4 separate regions of the Homo sapiens genome follow, and all the other regions are linked to region 4. The links are contacts of gene promoters, found by promoter capture Hi-C in blood cells and fetal thymus (Javierre and others, 2016). All regions are on one chromosome and are shown on one strand. Each heading gives the region's core, a stretch centred on a gene start or on the middle of the fragment in contact. The rest is flanking DNA. Distances are from core to core; before and after follow the strand shown. Region 1 overlaps MARK2 (microtubule affinity regulating kinase 2). Region 2 holds the start of RCOR2 (REST corepressor 2). Region 3 holds the start of PLAAT4 (phospholipase A and acyltransferase 4). Region 4 holds the start of ATL3 (atlastin GTPase 3).

Region 1 (2,700 bases), core at 178-2,677, 220 kb after region 4:
TAGTGGGGGCTTAGCAGGAGGAAGGTGTGAGGAATCCCAGGCCTTTGGAATTCCTTGAGAAAGCAGTGTTGTTTTGAAGGTAAGGCAGGGGATTGGTGACTGGAAACTTGGAGGTGAGTGAGAACCTAGGGATGAACGTTCAGAAGCAGGGCTGGAAGGAACTTAAAAGGGACATTTGGATTGTTTCTAGCTTTTGGGCAAAATCTAGGATTAAATATGATTTTTTCATTGATAGAATGCTCTATCAGTGATAAAGGCTCTTAATCTAGAAAACATACACCTCATAGGGGGCTTTACAGAGTCCCCAAACTCCCTGAAATTATGCTCAAAATATTTTGTGTCTAAGTGGAATGTGCATGTTTCCAAGGTTAAGCACTGCTTTTTTAGGAAGTAGGAGGTCCGTCCGCCACTGTCAGCTTGCTGGTTTCTGCTTACCCTCCTCCCCACTTCGTTCTTGAGGGGGTGGTTTGCTGGTCTTTGGCAGGGCCGCCACTCTGGGTCAGCACATCTGAGTCACACATGTTCCTCCCCAGCCCTATTGGAGGCTTTGTTAAAGTCATCTGCCCCTACCCAGGTCCCACCTGCCACAGGTGAGCTAGGGTTTTATGACAGCCGTGGCTGCAGTGAGTCTCCTCGACCTCTCGCCAGCTGTTACCCAGCAAAGCACCTTGGGGAGGGTGGGGCTGCCCACTTCCGGGGAGGGGGGGAGGGGGAGGGGAGAAGGAAGTTGATCTAAACCCGCCTCTTTCTCTGTCTCCCTTCCTGCCCTATTCCCCTCCTGCCCCTTCCCTCCCACCTTGCTTCTGGTGTGCTGTCCTGGAATTGCACGCGCTTCCTGACCACCAGGCTCTGGCCCTTGAGAAGCCAGCGGGGCTTTGTCCCTGTTGCTCTCCTTGCCAAACCCAGTCTCTCTGCTAGTGGTGGTTTCGGTTGCGACACCGTCCAGGTTCCCAGGCAGGAACCGCTCGGCCTGGCTGCTTAGCTACTTTTCACTGAGGAGGTGGTGGAAGGTGTCGCCTGCTCTGGCTGAGTAAGGGTGGCTGGCTGAGCCGGCAGCCCCCGCCCTAGGCCTGGCTCTTCCCGGCCTCTGTACTTTGCCCTCGCTGCCTGACAGGTTCTGCTGTGGGCTCTGCTGAATGGAAGTCGCTGGTAGTCCTTTTCCCTTTCTCCAGTCGGGTATGTTGTCCCCCTTTTTACTCTAGGATTGCCTCCTCCTCTTTCTTTCCTCTCATCTCAAACATAGGATCTTTAGAGAGTTGCTAAGGGGCGCCCTGCCTGAGTCCAGCATAGTAATATTCATGGGAAGGGTGTCCAGATGTGGAAGAGGCATTGACTAGGAAAGGAAGAGGGGGCACATACCAGAAGGGTCTCCCCTGAGAACAAGCAGCTTGACAAGTGGGCGAGGAGGGGCTGGTGGGAGGCAGAGGCCTGAGGCCTCAGAGAGGATGCTCCCGTGCTACAGTGAGGGGGAGCCTAGGATCTGGGGCCATTGCCCAGGACTGGTGCCCAAGGGACACTTTTCTCCCCCAACTCTATAGTGCCTGGCTTACTCTGCTTCTGGCCAGGGAATATCACCCCTCCTGGTTTGGCTCCTTCTCAGCCCTCGGGAAGCCAAAGGACACTTGAAGCCAGCCCTGAATGCAGAGCCCCAAAGCATGAGCTTCTCCATGGGACAACTGTTGGTAGGAGCCTCCAGCATTAGGGCAGGGGCCCTGCCTACCTGAGTCAGCGCCAGGCCTCTCGGGGTGGAGGCTGTCTTCCGGGCAAGCCTGACAACACACCTAGGCCGAGTCTGAGATCCCAGGCGGAAGGGGCCTGACAGGCCCAGTGGATGCAAAACTATCTTTTTATTTTCTCCTCCATGTCCTGCCTTCTCTCTTCCTCTCAGTAGCAGACCCCAAAGCTGTTTCAGCCCTACTTCTGAATCAGGCCTGCTTAGTAACTACTTGGTTTGCCTTTTGGTTCCAAATAACTGCCTTGCAGGGTGACCCCTTATTCTTTCTAAAGGCTACTTGAGAGCCATAGGGTCTACTCTTGACAGACCTCCTCCATCCTTTAGGGCCTGTCTAGAGTATGATATAGGCCAGAGCTTTGGGAGTGCCTGGTGTGCCACGTCTTACTATAAGCAGGGAGGATGGTGGTAGAGGGGAGAGCGTGGCTTTTGCCAGGTCCTATTGAGTTGGCCCAGCAGGGCAGCTAATCCTCAGCCTGCCATCCTGTTGGTGAGACCCAGGGCCAAGCTGAATGGTGCAGCCAGAACCAAAAAAGAGAAACTCTCTCTCCATATTAGCCACTGCATACTCTTACCTCTTTATCCTTCAGGGAAGAAGCTAGGTGAGGAAGTTGCCTCACTTGGGGCCTTGGCCCAAGAAGCATTTCTGTTGGAGACTCTCTCCTCTCTTTTCCCTTTTTCTTTTCTCTGCTTCCTTCCAGTGGCTTGCCTCCTTACCCTGGCTCACATCCCTGCTGTGGGAAACATCTTACAGCATAGAAGAAGGGGTGCAGGGGTAAGTAAGGGAAGGATTGAGCACTTGGAGTCCTCTGAGTTGGATGGTTCAGTCCCGAAAAGGGGGTTGGTGACTTTGGAGCAGGGGATCAAAGAGCAAGCACCAGTGCTTGTTGCTTCTCTGGCTCCTGAACAAGCAGAACCTCCTCTCTTTCCCTGTCCTGGATACCCAGCGTGGGACCAGCCCTTCACAG
Region 2 (2,700 bases), core at 133-2,632, 250 kb after region 4:
GAAGGGACTGGAAGAGGAAAAGACCCTGTCCAGCCATGGCCATTGGGGCTGGAGGGTGGACAAGGGGACAGTTTTAGAGCCCAGGCCAAGCAGGGTGCTTTGTTCCGGGGGAGGGGAGCGGGGTTGGAGGGCAGCCCCTAGACCTGGACCACAGCCCTGCAAGGAACCCAAGGCTCCTTCCCACCACAGGAGCCTCACAGCTCTGTGTGGAGGTGTCTCTCCAGTCCCTGCTCCAGCCAGACCTCAGTCCCCTGCAAGGTGGCAAGGTATGAGGGACCCACTCTATGCAAGGGAGGGATGCCTCGGTCCCTGAGGGGGTGAGGGCAGGGCAGGGGCCGGCAGGACGCCTCCACAGCAGCTAGGGGCCCAGGTTCCAGATTGGCTGTGCCGGCAGCCTGGGTTTGTGGGAGAAGCAACGCAGAGGCTCCAATCCAGGAGAGGCAGGAGCCATCAGTGTAACAGGCTCGTGGTCTGCAACTCTTCCCCCTCCCGCCCCACTCCGCTCCCCCCAGGCCGGCGCGCCTTTAACCCTAGGCCACCGGGCTCACCGTGCGAGTGCTCCTCCTCGCTGCTGTCATCCTCCGAGTGGGGCTGTCCGCCGTTGGGCACCGTCTTGGCCCGGCTACGGGACAGGATCCCAGAGCCCGCGCTCGGCTTCTCCATCACTGAGGGCATTACCCCGCCCAGCTGCCCCGGGGGGCGCAGGAGCCTTCGGAGAGCGACAGTGGTTGCCGCACTCGCTCCGAGTGCCGAGCCCGGCCCGGCCTGGAGAGGTCGCCACTGAGGTTAGGAGAGGCAGGAGGTCAGCGTGGCTAGGGTCCGGCGGGGTGGGAGCCCACCTGGTAGCCCCAGCGCTCTCCACGACCCCCACGAGCCAGGGCGTCAGAAAAGTTTGTGCAGAAGTGGGGGACGCAAGGGATGAGCGCAAGGTCCGGTGCGGCTGGGGCGTGATTACTATGTACGCCCCTCAGGGTTGGGGTTCCCCTGAAGTCGGGGCCCCCTGTCCTCGGGGCGCCCTGGAACCCCACCGCCCACCTGCCCACGCCGTTCAGCGGCTGGGCGCTGGAGCGCAATCTGCGCCCCCCGGGCTCTGCGCCTCTCAGCTGCGCCGGGGATGCCCCAGTCCCCGGGCGGGGACCCGTGTCCTAAGCAGACCCCTGCCCGCGACGGCAGCCGGCCGGGGCACCGGCGGCGGCGGCGGCGGCGACGGCGGCGGGACGGCGCGCACGGCGCGCGGCGCTGGGCAGAGTTGCCGGGAGGCGGGCGGAGCGCAGCCGCGGGTGCCGCCTCGCACCCTCCCCGGCGCGCTCGCTCTCCCCGCCGCGCTCGGGATGCCGCTTGCTCGCCCGCTCTCCGCCGCCGCTCGCTCCTCGCGCACACAATGAAGCTGCTGGCAGGGAAGTAGTGCCGGCTGCGGCCTCAGCACCCCTCCCCCAGCCGATGCCTCCGCCAGCTGAACATCTGGCCCTGGGGTGGGAGGGAGGGCCCGGGGGGCGGGGCCAGGGGGCCGGGGCCAGACCTCCAGGGGGTGGGATCAGGACCCTGGTGGGGCGCGCGTCCCGCTGCGGGGGCTCCCCTCGCGTCCCTGGGCTCCCAGACTTGCCCCTGGGGGAGACCCCACTGCCCCCCAGGAGTAGCCAGGGGTCAGCCCCACCCACGCGCACACCAACACCACACACCAGTGGGCTCGGGTTACTGCCGCCTGCCCCGGGGGCCCTGGGGCCGCCTGCCCGCCCGCCCGGGTGGAGCCCAGCTTTTCCTTCCATTTCCCTTCCTGCCAAGGAACTCCCCGCCCCCCCTTCCGCAGGGGGGACCCCCCTTATGCGCCCTTGGGGGCCAGAACGGATGGGAGGCTGGACAGGCAAGGAATGAATTCCTCCAAGAGCTACCCAGCCAGAGGCTGGCTTCTGGTGGATCTGTGGGTCCCCAAGGGTCGCCCCAATTCCCTTTAACTGCTGCAGTATGCACCCCTAAACAGTGGTAGCAAGGGCTGAGGGATGGGGAGTGGGAGGTGTAGGGGAAGGTCTGGGCTGCAGGGGAGAGAGGAGCTGGGTCTCCTCCCCACTGGGTTCACTGTCACCCCAGCTGGAAGCAGCATCCCCCTCCCCCCGGACAAGCACGGGCAGAGTGACAGACAGGGAAGCGGGTAGAGCGGCACAGACGGAGATGGGGGAGGGGGTGGGCAGAGACTTTCAAAGCCAGACCCAGCCACCCTGCCAGGCACACAAAGAGCCAGCGCACACACCGGCGGCGGCTCCGAGCCTGCGAGCTGCGCCCGTGCCCGTCCCCGCCGCCCGGGGCACGTGCTGCAGCGCACACAAGCTGAAGCCCCCGCCCGCCGCCCCTCCCACCCGGAGCCCCAGTCTCCTGGACACACCTCCACCCAGGCACACCCCGCTGTGCCCAGACTGAGCCGAGCCCGCACTCGCGCCCTCCTCTCCCTTCCCTTCCTGGTCCACTCTGTAATCAGATTCCTAAATTTAGAAGCAGCCTAGGGCCCAGCCAGGGATCCCTGCCCCCACCCGCTGCCTGCGGCCGAGTGGCCGGGGTGTTGCGGTCGGGCCACGACCCGGCTGGGGCCGCTTGTTCCCGGGGACTCCTGCGGACAGCCAGGGAAAGCCAGGCTCGACCCCACCCGGCTGCTGCGCCGTCGAGCCACATGGGGCCACCCAGCCAGCGGCCACGTTGCCCGCCACACCT
Region 3 (2,700 bases), core at 27-2,526, 130 kb before region 4:
TTTTTTCTGTATTTTTAGCAGAGACGGGGTCTCGCCATGTTGGCCAGGCTGGTCTTGAACTCGTGGGCTCAAGTGATCCACCTGTCTAGGCCTCTGGTTGGGTGTGAAAATATGGCCCAGTTCTGGCCAATGGAGAAGGGAACAGGTCATCTGGGGAACTGTGGGAAAGACTTAACTCCCTGAAAAAAAGACAAATGAGAATTATCTTTCCCTCCATCTTTTGGGCATAGCCAGGTAAAAATGGGCCACTCAAGGCTGCTACAGCCATGGGAGTCCCTGCAGGGCAACAGTGCAGACCCAGGACCAGTGCAATGGAGACAGCCTGCTGAGTCCTTGGTGACCTTGGTGAGCCACTAAACCCAACCTGAGTCACCCTCTTCCTGCCTTTCTGTTACCGAGACAATGGGTGTCCAGGCTGTTGAAGCCCTTTTGAGTTTAGTTCTGCTTCTTGCACCCAAATGCATTTTAATGGGGCCATGAGCTCCCAGGCTCCACATGGTCTAAGGTACCCCTCACCTCCAGGGCATCCCCATGGAATGAAACACCCCCTCTGGCCTTCTCCCAAGACTTCTGGCCCAATATTTTCTGGGTGTCTTTACAAGACAATGTCCTATGGGGTGCACTGGGGATTGACATCTCCCTGCCTCCGAATGCCTCCCCTTCCTGGAGTAGGAAGAGCTGCCCAGGGTTCTTTTTAGAAGAGACCTTTATTTTGGCCAGGTGCGGTGGCTCACACCTGTAATCCCAGCATTTTGGGAGACCGACGGGGAGGCAGATCACAAGGTCAAGAGATCGAGACCATCCTGGCCAACATGGTGAAACCCCGTCTCTACTAAATATGGAAAAATGAGCCAGGCATGGCAGCAGGTGCCTGTAATCCCAGCTACCTGGGAGGCTGAGGCAGGAGAATCACTTGAACCCGGGAGGCAGAGGTTGCAATGAGCCGAGATCGCACCATTGCACTCCAGTCTGGGTGACAAGAGCGAAACTCTGTCTCAAAAAAACAAACAAACAAACAAACAAACAAACAAAAAAGAAAAAAAAAGAAAAGACCTTTATTTCTCAAGCAAGGGCAGAAATTCAGGGCTCCCCTTCGACTCTGGCTGCTCCCAAGGTGGCTTTAAAGCACCAATGAGTCCATGGCTTGTGTAAGAAATGATTAGTCCTTCCATCTAGAGAAATAGCTCCTTTTTAAACAGTTGTCTCTTTTAAACAGTGTTTAGTATTTAAGTGAGGTTGAAACAGTGTCAAAAGGAAAGTGAAAGTGAAATTCTCTCCTTCAGCATAAAAGCTGATCCACAAACAAGAGGAGCACCAGACCTCCTCTTGGCTTCGAGATGGCTTCGGTAAGTTTCCCAGGGCTTTGCATTACTGACTCTACAGCAGTTGGGCAGCTCCCCCTAGGAAAGGCCTCAGTCCAGGCTCCTGGCCTTGGGCACACAGCTCCAGAGCTCGTCTTTAGAAGGCTGTCATGGAAAACTGTATTTGTCTTTTAAAAGTGCATCTGCCCAGCTGGACAGGGAGTCCTCTGGGCAGAGTCCACCTCCTCTGCGTAACTGGCACAGTGCGGGGAGCCCGGGACTCCCATGTAGTAGAGAGCTGTGGGGTGCCGGGTGTCAAATCTACCTCAGCCTGAGGAGAAGCCAGAGTGTGGGCAGGTGGGGGACTCTGGGTTGTGGGAAGCAAGCAAATCCCAACATCGTCTGCTTCTGCTGTGACTGGGGCTCAGTCCCTTCTCGGCCCCAAACGATGCTTTCTCTCTCCTCGTTCCTCTGTGGCATCATCCAGCCTTCTAAGGTGCATTCTAATCTCAGCAGCTTTCTGAAAACTGAAATTTCTCCTCCTATCAGCCCAGATGTACCGATTGGCAGAAGCTCTAGGGAGAGCAGGCTGAGCTCGGTGGTGTGTGACTAAAAAGGAACAGCGGGGCTCAGGCTATTACTAGAAACAAAACCATTCCGGGAAGGAGTCCTGCAAATTCTGGAGGGCAGCCCACTCCAACAGCACCACCTGATCCTGGGGAAGGGCTTTACTGCTGCCAAAACAAATCAGGGCTTTTAACAGGGAGCCCAGGCCAAAGCTCATATCTCACTGGCCACCAGCTGAGGTTGCCAGTACCTTGACTGTGGTTTTAGACATTCAGCATTGCAGTTAAAAGCCCCTCTCTCTCCCCACATGGAAACCATCTCCTGTGGTGCCCTGACATACAGAGGAGGAGCTGGGAGGGAGTCCTGGCCCTGCTCCTTTCTCCTCCCTCTTCCTTGTCTATTTCCTTGCCCCATTCTACGCCAGGCCCTTCACTGGGTCCTGGAGGTGCAGGGAGGGAGGAGCACACAGGATCCTGCCTGCCTGGAGCTCACAGCCCAGAGGGGCACAGGGAGGCACAGGGAATTGCAGCTCAACTTGACCCCTGCAGAGAGCAGCAGAGGCCCCCGGGGACCCAGGTCCTAGGAGTGGGGTGGCGGGTCAGCTGAGCCAGGCTGGGGCCATCAGGGCAGCTTCTCAGGTGAGGGGGTTTGAGGGAGGGGAAGAGGAAGAGTGGCTGCAGGGAAGTGATGGAGGCAGGGAGAACCAGATGTGCAGAGCAGCAGAGACCAGAGCCAGGGCAGTAGTGAGGGGCTGGGATGTCACTCAGTGGGCCTGTGGGTGCAGAGCCCAGGGAGGGAGAGGAGGGTGAGGAAGGGCCAGTCAGGAAGGGCC
Region 4 (2,700 bases), core at 109-2,608:
ATTGCTTGAACCCAGGAAGCGGAGGTTGCAATCAGCCGAGATCGCGCCATTGCACTCCAGCCTGGGTGACCAGAGCAAAACTCCGTCTCAAAAAATAATAATAAAACAATGTGCTGGACTACTGCAATACTGAGATCCTTCTCAGCCAAGTGTTTACAGGTGTTAGAGCGGCAACAGGAATTTCTGGAGTACAAGCTAATCTCTGTGGGAATGGAAAAAAAAAAGCACTAATTTGAATTTCAGTACCTATGTTGCAATGCTAAATTCTTGACAGGGATTAGTACTCCGTAGGTTATGCTTCTTAAATCTCCAAAAGTAAGCCAATATGTGAAATCGTACATTTTTGGTCCGTTATTCTAAGACTGACAAAACGTTCCATTGCTTCGTATTTGAATTTGAGAACTGAGACTCATTTAAAAATTCTTCACTGTTCTTTTCCTTTTTGCTCTTCGATTTCGCAAGTGAAACGGTCATTTCAACAGCACACACATTACACTAGAATAAAGCCAAGTAAAATGACAGACTAAATCAGATCCGTGAATACACGGTGACTCCTTATTTGGTTTTTAATACTTTCACTATGTTTCATGTCTTCGGGAAAGCAAAAGAACAACGTACTGTGCCAAAAGCACTAACTTACGAAAAACCAATTTAGACCAATTCTTTACAGCGTTAAGTATGGGTTGAAAACCAACTTTCCTAATACTTGTGGTCAGTGCCTCAAGGTCGTTAGGATAAAAATAAAGCTTCCAAGACACTTCGCAGCCTTCCAGCACTTCCAGAAAGGCCAAATAAACCAGCATTCACCTTCCCGCTCCATCCAGGCCCCGATTCTCCGACCAGAGAGGGCGCTGAGTGCCCGGGCACGGAGGGGCAGCGCCCTGGGGCGCCCGGCTCTGCCCAGGGCGGGGCTCGGCGGGGCCGAAGCTCCGGACGCCGCCCACGGGGACCACCGGCCCTTGGGCCGCCCAGGGGCAGCTGCAGCCCAGGGGAGGAGCTGGAGGAGCCCCCGGCGGCACCAGGGCCCGAGCCCTGACGGCGGCCGCCCCCGGCCGAAAAGTAAGGAAGGTGCCGCCCTCGCTGGACCAGCTGGGCCCGAAGAGGGGCCCCCCCACCACAAATTCGGAAACCGAGTGACCCCGGCGAGGGACGCGCGGTCCCAGCCCCGGGACGAGGAAGGGCGGCGGCGCGGGCGGGGGTTCTTTTCAGAACTACAGCAGGGAAGGCGGCGGGGGTGGCCGCGGGGCGATCCAGGGAAAATCGGCGCCTCACCTGCTCCTCTTGAGGCAGCTGCTGCCACTCGCTGAGGGGACAACATGGAGCCTCCGCCTTCAAAGCAGAAGCAGCAGGGGTGCAGAGGAGAGGGACGGGTGCGGGCGGGAACGAACCGGGCCCTGGAAGCGGGAAACGGGCGGAGCCTGGGCTCTAGAAAAAACTAGCCAGAAGGTGGGGCACGCGGAGCCGCGACGGAGCGAGCGCAGCGCGGTCTGCGTGGCCCAACGGACAGCCCGAGGCGTGGCGAGCGCAGGACGAGGCTAGGCGAGGCGGGGCGGGAAAGCGCACGCGGCAGAATCCCGCCACCGCCTGCCGCGTGTGCGCGAAGCGAGCCGCCGGGTACCTGTTGGCGGGGCGCTGAGTGCTACCGTCCTTTGGGAATTGTAGTCCCGCGCTCACTGGGTCCCGGCCAGCGGTCCTCATACTGCGCACTCATCTGGGGCGGGGCTTGGCGTGGTTCTCCGACGACTGAACTACAACTCCCAGCAGGCTGTGCGGGAAGGGGCGGGCTGGCTCGGGTCCTCCTGCGAGCTGCGGCCGGCGCCTAACGTGCAGACCAGGCCCCAGGCCGAGGCTTTATCCTGGAACCACCAGTGTGAGAGACAGCTTTGGTGTTTAACTAGGCCTGGGACCACAGGTGGGCAGAAGAGAGGCCTCAACCCTGGATGGCATGAACGTCACTGGGTCTTTAATGATTTTGACTTCATAAGGGCAGGTGGCCGTGACTTCATTACCACCTTTATTATCATCTCCCTATATTCCTGTCCCTGGCCATGGCTGATGCGCACCATCACCGCTCTGATAGCTAATGTAAGAAGTCCAGGCCGGGCGCCGTGCCTCACGCCTGTAATCCCAGCACTTTGGGAGGCCGAGGCGGGTGGATCACCTGAGGTCGTGGGCGTTCGAGACCAGCCTGACCAACATGGAGAATCCCCGTCTCTACTAAAAATACGAAATTAGCCAGGCGTAGTGGCGCACGCTTGTAATCCCAGCTAGTCCAGAGGCTGAACAGGAGAATCGCTTGAACCCAGGAGGCGGAGGTTGCAGTGAGCCGAGATCGCACCATTGCACACCAGCGTAGGCAACAGGAGCAAAACTCCATCAAAAAAAAAAAAAAAAAACTTGCACGCACATCCCAGCATTCTCTGCTCCTTTTCCCTGCATTACTTTTCTCCAAAAGACTTCATACCACTTGGCCAGGCGCGGTGGCTCACGCCTGTAATCCCAGCACTTTGGGAGGCTGAGGTGGTTGGATCACCTGAGGTCGGGAGTTCAAGACCAGCCAGGCTAACATGGTGAAACCCCATCTCTTCTAAAAATACAAAAAATTAACCAGGCGTGGTGGCAGGCGCCTGTAATCCCAGCTACTCGGGAGGCTGAGGCAGGAGAGGTTGCATTGAGTGGAGATGGCACCACTGCACTCCA

What was found. The method cuts DNA at HindIII sites, captures the fragments that hold promoters and counts their contacts. A CHiCAGO score of 5 or more calls a contact.
Region 1: a contact is called between a fragment that was not itself captured here and the fragment with the promoter of ATL3 in region 4, in 1 of 17 cell types (neutrophils). The highest score is 6.2, in neutrophils.
Region 2: the fragment with the promoter of RCOR2 here is called in contact with the fragment with the promoter of ATL3 in region 4 in 4 of 17 cell types (M0 macrophages, fetal thymus, total CD4 T cells and 1 more); the score reaches 10.9 in M0 macrophages.
Region 3: the fragment with the promoter of PLAAT4 here is called in contact with the fragment with the promoter of ATL3 in region 4 in 6 of 17 cell types (total CD4 T cells, non-activated CD4 T cells, naive CD8 T cells and 3 more); the score reaches 8.7 in total CD4 T cells.

What each region holds. Positions count from the first base shown.
Region 1 is chr11:63,887,789-63,890,488 of GRCh38, forward strand. The region is part of intron 1 of MARK2 (microtubule affinity regulating kinase 2); the gene reads left to right. Among named protein-coding and RNA genes, the nearest start is that of RCOR2, 28 kb to the right of the region's middle. RefSeq lists an enhancer at 729-838. The HindIII fragment of the contact is 3,301 bases long and covers 1-2,700 here.
Region 2 is chr11:63,915,782-63,918,481 of GRCh38, forward strand. RCOR2 (REST corepressor 2) reads right to left here and starts at 1,383. Exons shown (of 12, transcript NM_173587.4): 1 at 549-1,383. The coding sequence starts at 675. RefSeq lists an enhancer at 460-1,123 and silencers at 1,215-1,334, 1,475-1,534, 2,212-2,261. The HindIII fragment of the contact is 18,401 bases long and covers 1-2,700 here.
Region 3 is chr11:63,535,532-63,538,231 of GRCh38, forward strand. PLAAT4 (phospholipase A and acyltransferase 4) reads left to right here and starts at 1,277. Exons shown (of 4, transcript NM_004585.5): 1 at 1,277-1,346. The coding sequence starts at 1,338. RefSeq lists an enhancer at 1,176-1,225. The HindIII fragment of the contact is 4,349 bases long and covers 1-2,700 here.
Region 4 is chr11:63,670,018-63,672,717 of GRCh38, forward strand. It overlaps ATL3 (atlastin GTPase 3), which reads right to left and starts at 1,359. Exons shown (of 13, transcript NM_015459.5): 1 at 1,273-1,359. The coding sequence starts at 1,318. RefSeq lists enhancers at 724-1,225, 1,226-1,725, 1,766-1,875 and silencers at 886-1,145, 1,176-1,235, 1,556-1,675. The HindIII fragment of the contact is 2,416 bases long and covers 745-2,700 here.